Regions from separate parts of the Homo sapiens genome. Here region 1 is linked to region 2. Evidence: promoter capture Hi-C in human tissues and cell types (Jung and others, 2019). All regions are on one chromosome and are shown on one strand. The core of a region is centred on a gene start or on the middle of the fragment in contact, and the rest is flanking DNA. Distances in the headings are between cores, read along the strand shown.

Region 1 (2,700 bases), core at 69-2,568, 1.3 Mb after region 2:
AATTCCTATACTTTTTCATATTTATGATTAATGCCCACCTCCATACTCAATATCCATTATAGCAGTTTATTCTAGCCATCTTTCCTTCCTGCTGTATGGCATAGTTTTATTTCAGCATATTGAGTCTTTTTGTAAACTGCTGCCAAATTTATTTATCTGAATTATTCCCTCTCAGATACCAACATTTCAGGATCTTATTTCTGTTTGGATTATTTAGGTCAATTTCAATTTTCATGCATTTTATTTTTCTTTAAAATCAATTATTTTCATAATCTTTTAACAACTTCACAAAAGTCATATTAACCTGAATTTTTCAGTTTATCTTTGTCGTTTTTGTATTTCAAACTTTCTTTGGTGATGGGATTGTTTCAGCTTCTGTGAATACTCTCAAATTATGAAAATGTCATTTCTACTTATAGCTAATATTTAGGTGATTTTTACCTTTGACTCAGTCCCACACCGATTAACCCAGAATTCTTAGGTATTAACAATTGAATTATTAACTTTCTATGTTTTCTTTTCAGAATCCTTCCCACACATACCGTACTTATGGTGAAGGGATTTCAGATATAGGATGCTATTCTCAGACGGTAATTTTGGTTACTGATTAAGTGTACATTTCTAAATAGTAGACATTTTTTAAAGTAATAATAAAAGTGCAAACTTACCTATTGGCTTTCAAGAAATCATCTGTTGCTTAAACTTCTGGTATAAAGATGAGCTAAAAACGAATCACCAAACATCAATACAAACAAAACCAATAGAAAGTTACTAAAATCATCCTATTGGATGAGAATTTTGGTGAACTTTATAAATCTTTAATGTTTAATAAATCAATAAATTGATAAAATAAAAATTGGTGATTTGACACATTTATATTTCAGACAATTTGTGTGTGTGTATGTGTGTGTGTGTATGTTTGTGTGTATGTGTGAATTGAATCACAAACTATGCAAAATGGTGGTGCTGCTCATTCACTTGTGACCTCAAGTGAGTTTATCTACCTTGTTTCTTCCTTAATTTTTTTGTATCATTCTTCTTTTTAACCTTTTTATCCACTAGTGATCAAAATGAAGATAGGTTTCCTTCTTTACTAATACTCCCACGTATGTAGAGCTTACTTAAAATGCAACTGGGATGTATTTCATAATAAAAATGAGAAGCAAGATCATCAATCGCCAATTATCATAAAACTCAAAACTGAGAAGAGCTCCAATAAGTCACTTGTTCCAGCTTTCTAGCCTCAAACAGGGAATACATGCACACACATCCACACCACAGGTGACTCACTGCGGCATAAGGAAAATACATAACCTTTCCCAATACATGAGACCACAGAGCAAAGCTCACATTTATTTAAATATTCCCACAAGATAGTTGGAGGGGAATTAGTTTGTCTACCATAACAAACAGACAAGATTCATGGAAAAACAGAAGCTGAAGAGTACATTGTGTTAGGAAATTCTTAAGGATCTTTTCTGGATTTTGCTGTGGCTTTTAAGTGTTCTATAATTTTATTACAACAGATTTTTTTTAAATGTATCCGATTCACTGAGTGAAAAAGAAGTCTGCTAGTTATTGAAGTCACACATTCAAATTTCACTTCCTCTGGGCAGGTTAACAAATAGAATTGTTGAAGACATCATAAAGGTCAGATGAATGGAGGATGCAGGTCTCCCACTCTCCAGTTGTTGCAGAAGAGGTGTGCTTGGGCCATGGTGCTCTGCTGGACGTGCTGTGGGACCCCAACTCCCCACACCACACCAATGCTCCCTTCTTCCAAGCAAATGCCAAAGCTGACTTATCAGTGACGGCACATCCACACTTCTGGGGAGCTGGGTCGTCTGACTGTAGGAGTTGCCTGTGAATGCCTGCTGCCCAGAACCTGACGGTCTTGAGACCAGTGGGATTTTACACAGGGGGGAAGACACCATCCATGTGGGAGGATACTGATCCCCAGCACAGTGCCACTGGCTGAGTGAGTATATGTGTGTGGGGTGATTCAAGCTATCCAGAGTGAGCATAAGGATCATTGCTGGAAAGACCTACTTAAACTGTAGGACATTTGAGTTGTGAAAAGAGTGACACAAATGAAAAAAATTAACTGGAGTTTATTCATTCAATAGTATCTTCATGACAATGTTGAGTAGTTGCATTTCCTATGAAAGACCCCTGCTTTGATTTGGTGTTCTCCAATATTATTAAGGAAGAATATATACTCTCTGTGTGTGTGTGTGCGTGCATGCGTGTGTGTGTGTGTGTGTGTTCATTTCTTGATATACCTAGCAAGTCAGCAAGTCTGTTCCTGGTGTTTCCCACCAAATAATCGTAATTTACATGGTGTAGTTTTATCACTGTAAATGATAACTTATTCCAGGACTAAGTTATAAATTGAAAGTAAGGACAGAGCCTGTGTTTTAATGTCAATGGCTAGCACAGTGTCTGGAACACAGTAAGCTAGCAGTGATTATTTATTAAATAAATTCACATTAGTTTCTTCTCTACTGATATGGACTGGATGTTAGTGTTCCTCCAAAGTGTGTATGGTGATTACATTTGGAGATAGGGCCTCTAAGGAAAGAATTAAGGTTAAATGAGGGCATAGCAGTGGGATCCTGATCTCATGGGAACAGTGTCCTAACAAGAAGCAATCCCAGAGAGCTCGCTCTCTCTCTCTATCTTGCTCTTGCTCTCACTTTC
Region 2 (2,700 bases), core at 100-2,599:
AGAGTGAGGGCAGTTGAGTACTCGGGTCTGGGACTTAGAGCTTCCAAGATTTCTACCACCTCCCACTCCCCTCGGGTTTGTAAAGCTGCCTCCATTTGCATTGGGAGTGCGGGGGGGCTGCCTGGGGGACTGTGGCGATTGTCCTCAGGCTATTGGCTGAGAGTGGTATGCCACTGACTTATTCCTCCAAGAGACATTTCCAGTACCCTCCATCCCTGCCCCCTGTACTACACACTGGTGACCTTCCCCCTCAAAAACAAAACTCAAACTCTGTCCCTGATGCTCATGGTCTACTGAAAACAGAATTACAGCTGTCTGTGAATGACCTCTGACCAAGCTGGGGGGACACAGAGAAGGGACTTGTGACTTGCTTTGCCAGGGAGGTCCTGAGAGGCTGTCCAGGGAAGGTGACATTGAGGCCGGGACTTGAGCTGGCTGTTTGAAGGCAGGAAAAATGGCAGGGCAAGGACTGGAGTCCTTCGCCTTCCTGGGGGACGTTTATTCCACATGCCTCGGGAAATCTGAAATGGCCTTGGAGAGCATTTGCTGGGGGTTGGGGGTGGGCGGAAGGGGACAGAGAGCATTGCCACCGACAGGCGGGGCGTCCCAGGGCCTCTCCCCAGGAGCGGATGAGCTCAGACGCGGCTCACTCAGCTGTGTCCAGGCACAGCCGGTTTATGACCTAAGAGAATGACAACCCAGGAGCAAGTCGGGATGACAAAGACGCCCAGAAGGGCACGCGCTTTTATGTAACCGACCTCTGAGCTGGCGGATCTCAGGAGGTTGGCGCTCTGAGCTCAGGCGCGGAGAAAGGACGGCGCCCCTGCCTTACTCTCTTATAAGTACGAGGGGACAGCAACGCGACATAACTTAGAGAAGTCCAGGAAGCTTTAGAGAGCAGGGCGGTCCCGCTGCTATTCCTCAGAGCGCGACTGGGGCGAACTGGGGCGCCCTTCCCAGCTCCAGCTCGGCCCTTGTCCCCTCTTCCCAGGATCACTCGCTGGGTGACCTTGGGCGAGCCACTTGACTTCTCTGAGCCCCAGTTTCCCAGTCCGTGCATCTGAAAGGCTGTAATAGCGTCGTGGGGCTCCCCACTCGGCCCTCAGGGCCAAAGGTGGGCGCCGGACACGCGGGAGGGGCCCTTGGACGCACCCCCTCTCGCAAACGCCCGGTTAGTCCCGGCGGACTCGCAGTGGAGAGCGGCCCCAGGAGGCGGCGGGCGGCGGGGCGGTGGGCGCCAGTGCGCAGGCGCGGCGCGGCAGGGCGGGGCGGCGGGCGCGGGGCGGGGCGGGGCGGAGCCGGGCGGGGCGGGGCCGGCGGCAGGCGCTGGGCGCTCGGCGCGGTGGCTCAGAGTGCGCGGGGCGGCGCGCGGCGTGCAGGTCGCAGCTGTGGCTCGGGTGCTGGCAGGTGCTGGCGGGACTGGCGGGGATCGCCGTGGACTGCCTCAGGGGCGCCGCAGCCCGCTCGGCCCGAGGGCCCGCCTAACCGCGCCGCCCGCGCCCGCTCCTCCTCGGCCCGCGCCCGGAGCGCGGGGGCCGCCGGCGCTGGGTACTCGGCGGCCACCGGGGATCGGGGCTGAGCGGTCGGTTCCCGCCCCCGTGCCGCCGCCGCCGCCTTCCGGCCGACCGCCCGGCTTGGCCGCTGCTGCCGCGTCTGGCCCCCGGGTCCCCGCCGCTGGGGGCGCGGGCGGGGTCGGGGGTTGCCGGGCGCCGCCCCCCGTGCGCCTGGAGTCCACATCCCGGGCCCGGCGGCCGGCGAGCATGGAGGAGAAGTACCTGCCCGAGCTGATGGCGGAGAAGGACTCCCTGGACCCCTCCTTCACGCACGCCCTGCGCCTGGTGAACCAAGGTGAGGCGCCGGCCGTTAACTGCCGGCCGGCGGCGGTTGGGGGCCGGGTGGAAACGCGGGGGCCCAGGGGGCCCCTCCGTGCCCTCTGCTGTCAGCGGACGCGGCGGAGACGGAGGCCCGGGTGGCCCCCGGGGTCGTTTGCACGGGGACCTGGGAGGCTGTGGGACACCTAGGGGAAGACCCTGATGTGAATTTTGGGGACTTGGAAGGAGAAGGCTGGGGCGCATGGGTGAGACTTGAAGGAAATCTTTGGGGACTCGGGCACACCCAGGGGAAACTTCTGGGTGGGGGACAGCGACCATCTGGGGGCTTCGTTGGGAACGAGGTTGAATTATGTCATGGAAGGGGAGCGTGTTGGACTCGGGGAAGTAGGGCGTTTGGTTTGTCTAAGGTACTGGAGAAAAAGCTGGAGGAAAATGGAAGGACTTGAGGGACTCAAATGCAGAAGAGGTGAAGGGAACAGGTGCTTGCATTGTTAGCGAAGTTTGGGGACCTTGGAAGAGGGTTGGGGTCAGACCCCAGCACCTGAGAGGAGAGGAGCTCCGTGGTCCCAGGGGAGGAGCCCAGTTCCCCCTCCCAGCCCTTTGTCTCTCCTGTGTCCAGGCTCCAACAGCCCTGGCGGGGCAGTCAGCCCTCCCAGGGGATGGGCAGCCCATGCCAAGCCTTGCAGGCTGGCCCTTGGAGAAGTCAGTAGGGGAGAAGAGGCCGGCAAAAGAGCACCGTTCCGGAGGGCGTTGGGTTGGGTGACCCTCATTGGTGGCTGGCTTGAGGTTCGGAATAGTGGTGAAGGGAGTCCTTGCCATTTTCACACGACTCCAGCCAGCTCAGGGTGTGAAAGATCCTAGGAAGTAC

The links. The method cuts DNA at HindIII sites, captures the fragments that hold promoters and counts their contacts. A contact is called where the count stands out against the background at its distance.
Region 1: a fragment that was not itself captured here is called in contact with the fragment with the promoter of KHDRBS3 in region 2 in 1 of the 25 tissues and cell types used here (lymphoblastoid cells).

Annotation. Positions count from the first base shown.
Region 1 is chr8:136,757,627-136,760,326 of GRCh38, forward strand. All of the region lies in intron 2 of LINC02055 (long intergenic non-protein coding RNA 2055), which reads left to right. Among named protein-coding and RNA genes, the nearest start is that of LINC02055, 230 kb to the left of the region's middle. The HindIII fragment of the contact is 4,067 bases long and covers 1-2,700 here.
Region 2 is chr8:135,456,107-135,458,806 of GRCh38, forward strand. It overlaps KHDRBS3 (KH RNA binding domain containing, signal transduction associated 3), which reads left to right and starts at 1,350. Exons shown (of 9, transcript NM_006558.3): 1 at 1,350-1,848. The coding sequence starts at 1,761. It overlaps LOC101927872 (a long non-coding RNA gene), which reads right to left and starts at 1,869. Exons shown (of 4, transcript XR_002956731.2): 1 at 1,776-1,869. RefSeq lists a silencer at 1,222-1,521. The HindIII fragment of the contact is 4,912 bases long and covers 1-2,700 here.